3 separate regions of the Homo sapiens genome follow, and all the other regions are linked to region 3. The links are contacts of gene promoters, found by promoter capture Hi-C in blood cells and fetal thymus (Javierre and others, 2016). All regions are on one chromosome and are shown on one strand. Each heading gives the region's core, a stretch centred on a gene start or on the middle of the fragment in contact. The rest is flanking DNA. Distances are from core to core; before and after follow the strand shown. Region 1 holds the start of TMEM260 (transmembrane protein 260). Region 2 overlaps NAA30 (N-alpha-acetyltransferase 30, NatC catalytic subunit). Region 3 holds the start of CNIH1 (cornichon family member 1).

Region 1 (4,301 bases), core at 891-3,390, 2.1 Mb before region 3:
GGTTGGTTTTCATTTCTCTCTCCCACTAAGTTTAAAAACATTATCCTATCCATTTCACGATCGTGCCAGGATACCACCACCTCTCCCCTCTGGCCACACACAAAGCATCAATTCAAGCCATACACACAGAGGTTAACAAAAATACACATCACATTGTCATCCTTGCTACTAAGACACCCCAGTCTTAGGTGACTGCATCATGGAAGCCTTATAAGGGCACCTGAAGACAGATTAAGTCAATTACTTAAGGACATTTGTTAAGAGATATTCAAGAGCACCTGAGAAACCAGCACATTTTATATCCTAAATGCTTCTTTTTAAATAGTTTATGGTCTCACAATGTCTCAAACAACTGTTCCCTTTGTTAACTACTGTAAAGGATATGATTTTATAGTTTACTCCATAATGGATTAGCTCTTAAGTCTTTAGCTCCAAACTATTTTCGATTTTTTTGTTCCTGTAATCTTTTTGTAACGAAGCCACCATAAATTCAAAATTTCAAAGGTCACTATTCATTCTCCTCCATTTAAAATGTATTCAGAATTACATTTAACATTAAGAAAAATAGGCTGTTTTTCTCTAACTTCTTTTTACCATGGAAAAGTCAGTGTGCTGTTATTATTTGCCAGACTTCTGCTGCTATAAAGATAAATCTGGAATGTGACAAACTTTCATCAATTCTTATCAAATGTTAAACTAAAATCGAAATAGAAAAGATGTCCCCATTCAACGTCTCTAAATGTAACCTTGATAAAGATCTAAAGGGAAATACTACTCTTAAATTGATTGTGATAAAGAGGAAGGGAATAGTAAAAAAACCTCGAGCTTCCCGAGTCTTGGCTTTCTCCCAACCCTTTACATGAAAGGTTCCTCAGTTGTGTCTACCTGCATCAGAATTAACCTGCTTTTTAAAAATGAAGATTCCTTGCCCACACCTCCAAATTCCATAATCTACTAAGACCCACTTGCACTGGGGGCTCAAGTTTCCCAGGTAATTCTGAAGTACGTTCCTGTCTGAGAACCACGGCTTTGTTGTCTGCAATACAAACTAATGGCAAGCCCAGAGTTGTCAGCAGATGCTTAACCTTTACAAAAACCAGCTCCCTTTATATCATACTTCTCAATATTAATTAGACTAGACTGTCACACATCACATCTGTTAAAGACAGTATCTTTGAAATAAACTCACGTACAAACTAATTTAGTGAAGGCCAGATTCCTACCCCCTCCCCGAAAAGCACCACAAGCACCCTGCCCATAAATGAACTGTGTGTGTCAAGTGGTACAAAAAATAATTTTGGCAAGACGACACAATGTGATGAATCTATGGAGTAAAATGTAAGACTTATCAGGAAGAAGAATACATGCTTTATACTGGTTTTGAGATGTGTTCTGTTTATTGATGAAAATATAATTCATAAACATTCAAGAATAGTGCATTCAACATGTAAACACAATTATCAAATATACGATAAAGCAAATTTTCCATATTGGCATATACTTGGAAAACAGTTTATCATTCCCAAAAATGAACATAAAAATATTAGAAGCAACCACTATTTAACATCAAACCAAACAAAATTAAAGCACCTAAAGTTTGGTAACTCAAGGTGAATACACAACTTTATTCTTTTAGGAAAAAATAAAATACAGTATTAATAAAGGCAAGGCAATAATCATGATTTTAAATAAATTTTAAACATCACTACATATGTGATGGTGGATTTAGAAAAGAATTTCATGAAATGTTTTGACGAAAAGTAGAGGTTAAGGGGGCATATTCTGAAGTCAATATACTTTTCTTTTCCTGATTTCTCTACTTTGTGTGACTTTGGGCATAGCTTAGCCTTAGTTTTCCCATTTATAAAAGGAAAATAATAATTGCACCTACTTTTAAGGGTAGCTGGGAGGGTTAAAACAACAACCCATATAAAGCACTTGGAACAGTGCCTGGCACATAGTAAGTGCCCAACAAACGTCAGTTATTATAAATCTCACTCCCATCCTTCACACTCAACCAACCATAAGTAGCTGTCAATCTTTTTATTTTTTTACAAGTAACAGAACTACCTAACCTCTGAATAATGCTCTCCAGCACCAAAACTCACAACTATAAAGTTACTTCCATTATGAAATACCAATCTTGGTAACACTGTACAGAAACTCCCTACTACACGAATGAAACACTATCCCTACTTGTGCAACAGGACCTGAAAGAAGAAAGGTAACAATTTGAAGATGTAACATCAAAGATCTTCAACGTGGTAGGCAGCCCTAAATATGATCCCCACTAATCCCCAAGTCCTGATATTCTCACCTGTGTAATCCTTCCCCCTTGAATATGGGTTGGGTTTACTGACGAAGTTCCAGGAATAAAATGCAGAAGTGGTATATCACTTACAGTATTAGGTTACAAAATGACAGAGCTGTCAGACAGAGAGGTGTCCTTCATCTTTTTCTTGACAGAAGTCAGTTAACTTATGGAGACCCACATAGCAAAGAACTAGATTGCGTTTCTCCCCAAATTGAGCCTTGAGAAGACCGCAGCCCCATCGCACACCATGACAGCAACCTTTTTCTGAGTACGAGCATCTAGCTTAAACGGCACCCAGACTCCTGATTTACAAAAACGGGAGACGATAAACGTTTGCTGTTTAAGCTGCTCAATTTGGGGATCACTAGTCATGCAGCAAAAACTGCTTCTTCAGTCCATAGGTTCACCACCTGAAATTACAGCACTATTCTGACAAAATTACTGGCCATGATATGGCATTATTGAATCCAAAAACAAAACATGGATCTTGTTTCTTGCATCAAATACAAAACAATTAGTGTGATTTAAGGGCCAATGAGTCATGCTTTTCTTTTTCATAGAAACAGCCGCACCTGGCTTCCACCTTTTTAAGAGTTCTCCTGCAAATATTCTGCATGGCTAGTTCCTTCTCAATATTCAGGTTTCAACTAAAACACCACCTCTTCAGAGGTCTTTCCTGAATAGTCATTCGGAAGGACCCACTACTTACCCCCACTCTCAATCATATTTCCCTCCTACTGTCTCCATAACTTATCACCAGTGAATATGCTGTTTATTCATTAACTTGTGTATTGTCTAACCGCACTGGAACACTAGCAATTATCTGTTCGCCACTACTGTTCTTTTGTTTGAAACATAATAAGGACACCGTGAATAATATCTGTGGACTAAAAAAGACTGAAAGTAAATACTCAGGACCAGGATAAAAGATCTGGGGAAGTGGAGAGGTCGATAAGCCCCACCAGGCGAAACCAACAATACGCCCCATCTCGAAAACCTGAGAACTAAAGAAACCACAACGACAGGAATGGAAACAGAAGTGGGCTCTGGAACACACAATAGTGCGCTGTGCACAGGGGGGTGGATGGAGGCCCAGAGCTGACCAGACCGAATGCCAAGAGCAGGGGCCAGACGCAGACCCTGCCCGTTCTGGGACCAGGGGAGAGGGACAGAAGGGGCAACCCTGCGAGTACTTTACCGGAGTCTCCCCCCGGTACCGAAGGGGGCAGGGTGAAGGTGAACACTGCGGCCACGGCGGCGAACACCGCCACGCCGCCGCGGATGCCCCCGGAGCGCCGCAGCCCCACTCGGACTGCCCGCCCCTGGGCCTGGCCCCTGCCGTCGCCATGGGGACTCATGGGCCAGTGGCGACCGAGGGAGAAGGACACGGCCAGCCCAAGAACCCGGTGCGACACGGAGCTCCCCAGCCGAGAGACGAGCGCAGCTTGTGCGGCGGCCACGGCGGCTTCCGGGTCGAGCCTCCGCGGGTTGGACCGCACCTTTCTCCGCCTGAGCGCGGGGAGGAGAAAATGCCAGGCCTCCCTTGAGCCAGGCCCTGCGAGTTTTCCCGCAGTGCACCACGCATTGGCGTTCACCTACTTATAATGTGATTTAAGGTTCCTAATCACCAGGAGAGCATTCCCTTTAAAAAGCAAGCCCGGCCACAGGCCTACCTTCTCCATGGCTATTCCCCCCTTTTATACTGACTTGGTTGGGTCTGACAGAGACCAAAGCAGCGTCGAAAACCGCGAGCGAGGAAGGGCTGCTCCTGCCCCCTACGGTGCGGGGTGGAACTGCACAAAAGGGCCACGATCAGCCAGGAGCCCCTACCTGTGCTAAAAAAAAAAAAAGGGTGGTGTATTTACCGTATGTGCAAAGTAAGCCAATAAATACATTAATCACAATTATGTATTTATTACGATTTACTACGTTACTATGACTAATTACAATAAGTCTGTGTGCTACTTATTAAATCACTGAGTAATTT
Region 2 (4,500 bases), core at 481-2,980, 3.0 Mb before region 3:
GGTTTCTGCCCTCCAAACTAGCCAAACAATTGGCTATAATTTATCATGAGTCCTTATCAGTGCTTTTTAATGCATCAAAGGCTCAAACTTAGTCCATAAAACAAGCCCAATTCATTAAAAATCTTAGTGGAAAGCTGTAACACTGCAATAAAGTTGGCTAAACCTAACATATTAAGTAAACCTATTTATAGTTACTTCTCATGATACCTAGGACCGTGTGTGAGTCTTAGGTTGGACAATAACACTTAATAGTTTTTAAAAAACATGAAAGTGAAAAAACTAATGATTAAATACTGGTACAGGTATTAAACTTTTTTTTATGAATACTCAGCTAAAGCACATCACAAAATTTGACATGCTTAGACAAATGCTTGTCTACCCAATTCTCCACTGTGAACAAAGAGCCACTAGGTCCTAGAGAATAGAAGAGTGGTTTTTTGAAACGGAGTCTTGCTCTGTCACCCAGGCTAGAGTGCAGTGGCACGCTCACTGCAACCTCCACCTCCCAGGTTCAATCAATTCTCCTGCCTCAGCCTCCTGAGTAGCTGGGATGACAGGTGCCCACCACCACTCCCAGCTAATTTTTGTATTTTTAGTAGAGACAGGGTTTCGCCATCTTGCCCAGGCTGGTCTTGAACTCCTGACCTAGTGACTCACCTGCCTTGGCCTCCCAAAATGCTGGGATTATAGGCGTGAGCCACCGCACCCGGCACCTGGTGGCCTATTGAGTTTTATGGCGTTATTTAAATGACAAAAGTTATCTAACCCAGCCATAGAAGAGTGGTTCTTAATCAGGCTTACATCACAGTCACCTAGGGAAGCTTCAGCCCCACCTCTGACAAGACAAACAAGAGTCTCAGGGTGAGGGGCCCAAATACATGTTTTTAAACCACCCACATGATTCTAATGATCATTATAAATCATGAGTGTTAAGATTAACTAAACATGTCAGGAAAAGTAGACCCAACAAAAAATTAAGTTTGGGAATTACAAGAAACAATCAATTCTCATCTCCTGATCTTTCCTGAATTGCAATATATAGTTGATGACTAGCACCAAGTAATGGTAACAATTTGTCCATAATTTTGGCTTGATTGAGGTCCACTTAACCCAAATACAGACAAGTGCTTGAAGGCTGGCATGAAGGACCATCATAATGTAATTATAAATTGCAGTATTTCTTGTGGTACTTAGCATAATGCAAAGCATTTTGAATGTGATTAAAAAAATCTGCAGGTGAAAGCTGATGATCGGCTACTTGTTAAAACGAAAAACTGTCAAACAAAACATTAATAAAGAAAAAATTCATTTTAAGAACTTTTTAAAAATACCATTTTGAAATTAAAAATTAAAACCCGCCTTAATTTTCTTCCCTTAGTTTCTTTCATTTCTACATACTTACATTTAAGTCTTTTATTTCAAAACACAACAAAAATGAAAATAGCTTAGGCATTCTTTCCATAAAATAATATTTTTCTTACCAATGCCATTTCTCCTGTATTTGGAATCCACGGCTAACATGGCTATATAACCTCTGCGGAACATCTTTTTGTGCATATCCAACTTGCAAACGATGGCACCTACACACTCCTCCCCTACCATGGCCTTAAAAATAAACAAACAGTTATGAAGAATACATTGCCATCAGGTACTGCACAATTATCCAGAGAAAACAACAACCAACCATTGGTAAGCATTTTCGACGGGGGAAGATAATGGGAACTCTTGCAAGACAGCAGTCACAGAAGTTTCAGAAATCTAAATCCCCTAACTCCTTTAAATGTTCCAGTGTTAAAATTTCTCAATATTCTTTAGAACATGAATTTTTTATGCTTACTATTAAAGCCTAGGGAAAAAAGACAAGATTCCACAAGGTAAACATTCAAGTACTTTATAAGATTACATATGAGGTGCTTAAAATCACAATTATTTGCAACAAAGACCTAAGGTTCTGGAAGGGGAAATATGCAAAAAAAAAATGATTATAAAGAAAAAGTCTATTCATTAGGACATAAAATATTGTAAAACTTGCCCATCAGCAGAATGTAAATTTAAATATATTCAGTTAAATTTAGTAATAATGGCCAGGTGCTGTGGCTCATGCCTGTAAACCCAGCACTTTGGGAGGCAGGCGCAGGCAGATTGCTTGAGCTCAGGGGTTTGAGATCAGCGTGGGCAACATGGCAAAACCCTGTCTCCACCAAAATTACTTAAATTAGCCAGGTGTGGTGGCATGCACCTGTAGTTCCAGCTACTTGGAAAGCTGAGATAGGAGAATGGCTTGAGCCAGGAAGGGAGAGGCTACAGTGAGCTGAGATCGTGCCACTGCACTCCAGCCTAGGTGACAGAGTGAGACCCCATCTCAATAAAAGAAAAAAATGAAAATAAATTTAATAATAAAGTTTTAGTGAAAGCCAGATATAATACATATTTACACCTGAATGGTAGATTTCGATCAGGAAAAAAAAATTAAAAATTTTCAGAAAAAGCACAGTTTATAAGGTATTGCTTAGACCATACCCAAGAGGTTTTTGTTAATATATGTAAGTGTAGCATAGTCTCATTTTTAGGATACTCCTGATAGTGTGGATAACTGTCATAAAGCTCTCAGAATATTTATAGTTCAAAATCAAAGCTTTATGTTAAAAGCTTTAATTTTACAGAAATTTCTATTTTAATAAAAACGTACAGCTTTCCAGAGTATTAAAAGCTACATGTTAAATTCTAATCATCCCCCATTTTCATTAAGATTTCTAGTGTTACCATTGAAAATGTTTTTCAAAAATTCCAATGCTGATAAAAAGTTCTAGTAACACAGTATTTCTGGTAAATATAAATAGGGCAGTATCTCCAACTGTTTAAATAATGTGTCAGTAAGAAGTCTGTTTTCCATAAATTAACTTTCCAGAAGAAACTATTTCAACAAAAGCAGAAATGAGTCAAAAAACTAATAAGTAATGTCCAATTTATAATTAATACATATTTTAAATTTGTGACTTTTTTAGTCTGTCATTCTGTAAATTGATTAAAAGGCCTTTTTTTAACTGTGGAGAAATCTTTTCAGCAAGATAATTCTAATCCATTTCATGCAAACCTAAACTAGGTCGGAAAAATCCTTTTGAAGGAATATGAAATTCAACAACCCACGCTAATTCATTTCTGGTTTATCACACATTCCAAAACTATTTTGGGTCAATAAACCTCTGAAATTGTTATTTCTAATTTTTTCCCTCACAATACATCAATCTTTTAAAAAAATTTTTTAAACAAAGACCTGAAGTATGCACAAAAATCGCCTCGACCAACTCTGAAAGCTTTTTCTGATTTGAAACTCACTTCAAATATATGTGCGTATATACAGACACGTATAAATACATACACATACATAAAATTATCACAGACCAAATGGTATATTTAAAAGGGCCAGAAAAAATTTTGGCCTGACCTCATAAGCCAGGCTCAGGTGAAATGAAAACCTGTATTAGATTGATGATACAAACCTCAGAATAGCTACACCTTATATAAAACTATCCAAAAATGAGGAAAAATTAAAACCATTAAACACAATACAACTGGACAGTACTTTCAATCTGAACAGGAATTTCAAACAAATCTTTGTCCTTTGAGCATGGAATAAGCAAACAAAATATTAAATTAGTTCATTCTTAAGACCTGATTTCTTCCTAATTTAGAATCTATAGGAGCAAAAATCAAGCTGTATACATCATCTAAAAAGCCCAATATATCATACACCATTACGATGACATTAGTAGTGAAGACCAATGCTGCATTTTTTTTTCCTGATAAACTACTCATGAATATGTGGTACATTTACAGGAATCACTAAATTGCTTGTCAATTTTTCCAAATAAAAGCTCTGCATATACATTTGGAATTCACGCTATTAAATGTATTTTTTCAAGGATGGGAACTGAAAAATCCCCGGCAAGATTAAGACTTAACACTACAAGGCCAAAGGGTTGTCAGTCTATAAAACTATGAAAAAAATAAAGTGAGAGATTCCCAAATTCTAGAACACTACAAATAGAAAACTGGAGGAAGCCAAAAAGTTAAATTTAGAACAAATAAATGGAAGTACTATGTTACATTTGCTGAGAGTAAGTTTAAGAACTTCAAAAAGATACCAACAACTGAAAATGTTACTATGAAAACAGGTAAAGATAAAATGGTTAAGTACAGAGTAACTGAAAGTGTCTCACATTTGTCCTTTTTTTTTTTTTTTTTTACATCTTTTACAATTAGGAAGAATCATAATAAGCTATCATTTTTATTAATCAAGTATTGGCAATTTTGTAAGGTTCAACCCCATATACTCCATTGACCCATTACAGGTTATCCACGGAAAACGGAACATTTTGGAGGTTTTTAATCTCTTGAGATTGATGTAAGGGCAACTGTCCCTTGGTGAAGATAACTTGGTGACACAATAATCTTCACTGAATGGATCAAGGGTATGTCATTTTTCAGGTTCTTGTTTGT
Region 3 (4,112 bases), core at 323-2,822:
AAAGTGGCAGCCCAGGCAGAGGAGGCGCCGAGAGTGAGGGAGGGCTGTGAGGACTGCCAGCACGCTGTCACCTCTCAAGATCTCATTACCTTGTCCAGGCTGGTCTTGAATTCCTGAGCTCAAGTGATCCTCCTGTCTTGGCCTCCCAAAGTGTTAGGATTACAGGCATGAGCTGCTGTGCCTGGCCAAAAGTAACTTGATAATTTGCACACAGGTGCCACATAATCCTGGTGGTACAGGTTGTACTGTCCAATACACTAGCCACATTTTACTTAAAGTGATGTGAAATTTAAAGTTCAGTTCCTCAGTCATGCTAGACAATTTACAAGTGCCCAATGGCCACATGTGGCTAGTGGCTACTGTATTGGGCAATGTTTAGGTATCGAAAATTTTCACCATCACAGAAGGTTCTATTGCACAGCACTGGACAGACCCTGCTTCTAAACTATTCTACGCAATTTGCTAGGTGAACGATCTTTAATGCAAATCTAAACATGGTCTTCTTTTGCTCAAAAGCCTTCAATGATTTTCTCTTCCATCAGCAGCAATCAGTTAATAGAGTTTTTTTCTTTTAAAAATGGTTGTAATGGAAAGTTAAATCAATTTTGAATCAATTTTGTGTGTTAAGACCAGCATTAAAAACAAGTAGCAAAAGAGAGAAGGGAAAGTACTTATGGATCATTAGTACAGTTTTGTGAAATTTTTGTTTTGGTCATATCTATATTTCTTTGCCTCTATAACTAGATTTCCACCTCTTCATAACTTGATGTCTGTATGATATTCCACTGGGTTGCAATGAAAAAAATCTTTCTAGTTGTGTGTGGTGAGCAAAAAATTTGGGCTTATGGGATAAGAAGTCTGAGCTCCGTAATGAAGCATTATAAGGCCCTCTATGATCTGATCCCTTGCTAATTCATTTCTAAGTCTCACCACTGTCTTGCACTTAGGTTCCATTAATACAGAATTGCTGCTGGTTTCACCTGAGACACGAAGCTTTATTTTTCTTTTCTTTTTTCCATCTCTGTTGCGTTTCCTCATTCTGAACTGTTTCCTTGGACTGCCAGTTCTACCTTCTTTTTGCCTGGAGAACTTATCATCATCTAAGGCCAACTTAGGAAACACCTACAGCAGGAATCCTGCCTAAATGCTCCAGGGCGGGCTGGCTGTCCTTCTTTGACCTTTCAGAGCATCCCACACACATCCGTTTACGGGGTTATAATAACGTAATTATTTATTTAGGTGTTCATTTCCGGCACTATACTAAGTTCTTTCAGTGCAGGTACTATCTTATTCATCTTTGTATCTGAAGCGAGAAGCGCGGTACCTGTAACAAACTAGGCATTCATTCAATAAATATTTGTTGAAAGAATAAACGCAAGAAGGAAGGAAAAATCAATCAACAACTGTGCGGACAATGTCAGTGCAACGCAGACTCCGGCCATCAGAGGGCGCCGGGGCGGCTGGGCTGGTGCGCAGGCGCGCTGAGAGGGCTGGCGCCGCGGCGGTAGCGGTGGCGGTCGCGGCTGTGGCCGGGGGAAGTGAATGGTTTTACCCAGAGGGCCCTGCGCCGCCTTTCTCCGCTGGCAACGGCGCCGCTCCCCGCTCCTCCTCCCCAGCCATGGCGTTCACGTTCGCGGCCTTCTGCTACATGCTGGCGCTGCTGCTCACTGCCGCGCTCATCTTCTTCGCCATTTGGCACGTGAGTAGCTGGGGCTGGGGAAAGGAGGGCGAGGCGGCAACACAGCCTCTTTTCGCCCCGGGCCCGCGGTCCGGGCCGCCACGGCCGCCGGGGCTTTGCGCGTCGGGGATGCGGCCCGGCTGGCACGGGCCGCGCGGCGAGGGGTCTGGGGGCCGCGGGTACTGGAGGAGCCGGGGCGCGCAGTCGCCAGGTGGACGCGCCCGCGTTGCCTCGGCACAGGCCGCGCGCACCGCTACTCCTCCCCTACTGGATGGGGCGGCCGCGGTCCAGGCGGGCGCCCGCGGTTCCGCGCTGCGTTCGCACCGACCTCTGCCGGCCCGCGGCCCTGCATTCCCGGGGAGGATGTCGACAGCGCGGTGGGACGGCCGTAGTGTGAATGAAGTTTTCCGAATTTTTGTTAATACAGATTGACTTTCTTTTAGGGTTTCCACAGAACTGTGGCCAAAATGTAACCTACTTAGGGTGAATTTCCAACTCTACTTTTCAGCACTTGTTCGGTGCTCTTCAAATCAAATCACTTTTTTTCTCTTTTTCCAGATTGTTGTTTCCTGGTGAACTTTGATGCAAGTTCAATTGATTACTTTGTTGATTGCATGTGCGCGTTTCCCCCCCAAATCATACTTTGACCGCTGGAGTTTCAACAGGCAGCTTTCCAAGCCACCCTTATATTCAGGATTGCTTGATTTAGTAGAGGGAGTTTTCATTTGATTTTGAGATGCTCAGAAACCTTAAGCTTTTCTGGGGCAGTATTTATTTCTGTTACACACATCATCATCACTATTGCAGGGTGGAAGCACAGCCTTACTGGTCCCTCTAAGGAAAAAGTCGTAAGTTCCCTGTGACATAGTTCTACAGAGATAAGAATTTCTGTTGCTTTAGCACAAAATTAAAAGCCTTGAGAGCCTTCTGGAAATCATTCATTAAAAATTTATCTCATACTTGCTTCTCTTTTCCCCATATTCCAGTGCCTTCTGGAATGTTGCTTTTAATTTGAATGACCGCGTTCACTCTTACGTAGATTTTAAGTCAGGTTTCATCATGCCAGTAACAAGGATTTCTATGAAACATACGGAGGGGCAGAATGATTAAACAGCAGCAGCGTCTTGTGCAAAAAAGTCTCGAAAGTGGAAGCATATCACAAATCCATTCCTTTTTGCTAAGCAGTGTGATTATGTTTACAATTATTTTAGGACCTGACTGCTTATTGTAATCAGGAATACTTATGTAGGCTATTAACTGTGTCGGAAATAACTGCTACCTCAGAATGCTTGTCAGTAGGAGCAGTAATTTGAAGAGCATCTTCAGCCCTGCTTTGATGGAAGAACAATACCTAAGATAATTTGGGATACAGACTAGCTCAACCTTAGTAGGCCTCTGATGAAAATGTGTGGTTCCATGGCCGGGCGCGGTGGCTCACTCCTGTAATCCCAGCACTTTGGGAGGCCGAGGCGGGAGGATCACGAGGTCAGGAGTTCGAGACCAGCCTGGCCAACATGGTGAAACCCCGTCTCTACTAAAAATACAAAAAAATTAGCCGGGCATGGTGGTGGGCGCCTGTAATCCCAGCTACTCGGGAGGCTGAGGCGGAGGAGAATCACTTGAACCCAGGAGGCAGAGGTTGCAGTGAGCCGCGATGGCGCCACTGCACTCCATCCTGGGCGGAGACTCCGTCTCAAAAAAAAAACAAAAAAAAAGAAAGAAAGAAAGTGTGTGGTTCCATTCCATCTGTAGATGTAGCTTTAAGTCATTCTGCTTGATGGGTATTCCTTTTTTCTGGGATGATGGGGATTCTTAGAGTGGTGGGGTAGGCTTTTTCACATTTTTACGTTTTGAACCAGGTTGTGTTTGGCTTAAGGAAAACCTGAACCGCACTTTCAAAAAATGGGTAATTTCAGCTTAAACAAATGCGTGTCTGGGTGAAGTAAATAATTTTAAGTCGTGTTATACAATGAAAAAAAAATTATACCGCAGATTCGTGGAGAGCTTTTATGCTTAGGGATTTCTTCATTCAGAGAATTAGTATCCTTTTGGAAACAATTCTAAATAAATAGATAGTTTTAATTTTTCTATTACCCATATAACCTTATGTTTATCATCTTAGGTAGTATCTTAGTCCATTCCTTTATAGTGTTTATAGTGTTGCTATACAGGAATACGGGAGGCTGAGTAATTTACAAAGAAAAAAGAGGTTTATTTACCTCAGGATTCTGCTGACTATAAGACTGGGCATCTGGTGAAAGTCTCAGCCTGCTTCCACTCATGGTGGGGGAGTAGTGTGTGGAGATCCCATAGTGAGAGAAAGCAAAGGAAAAAGAGGGGGAGGTGCCAGGCGCTGTTTACAAGCCAGTTCTCTTGGGTCCTAATGGCAGGAGAACTCACTTATTCCCTCCAAGATGACACCAAACCATTCATG

Evidence for each region. Contacts are between HindIII fragments. The CHiCAGO score rates a contact against its expected background, and 5 or more counts as called.
Region 1: a contact is called between a fragment that was not itself captured here and the fragment with the promoter of CNIH1 in region 3, in 2 of 17 cell types (total CD8 T cells and naive CD8 T cells). The highest score is 5.6, in total CD8 T cells.
Region 2: a contact is called between a fragment that was not itself captured here and the fragment with the promoter of CNIH1 in region 3, in 1 of 17 cell types (activated CD4 T cells). The highest score is 5.2, in activated CD4 T cells.

Annotation. Positions count from the first base shown.
Region 1 is chr14:56,579,286-56,583,586 of GRCh38, reverse strand. TMEM260 (transmembrane protein 260) reads right to left here and starts at 3,789. Exons shown (of 16, transcript NM_017799.4): 1 at 3,513-3,789. The coding sequence starts at 3,672. RefSeq lists a silencer at 3,502-3,721. The HindIII fragment of the contact is 4,901 bases long and covers 1-4,301 here.
Region 2 is chr14:57,393,857-57,398,356 of GRCh38, reverse strand. It overlaps NAA30 (N-alpha-acetyltransferase 30, NatC catalytic subunit), which reads right to left. Exons shown (of 5, transcript NM_001011713.3): 3 at 1,482-1,605. Among named protein-coding and RNA genes, the nearest start is that of NAA30, 5.5 kb to the right of the region's middle. The HindIII fragment of the contact is 1,814 bases long and covers 824-2,637 here.
Region 3 is chr14:54,438,834-54,442,945 of GRCh38, reverse strand. It overlaps CNIH1 (cornichon family member 1), which reads left to right and starts at 1,572. Exons shown (of 5, transcript NM_005776.3): 1 at 1,572-1,699. The coding sequence starts at 1,619. RefSeq lists enhancers at 1,229-1,288, 1,165-1,963 and silencers at 1,369-1,638, 1,679-2,038, 2,049-2,098. The HindIII fragment of the contact is 1,439 bases long and covers 996-2,434 here.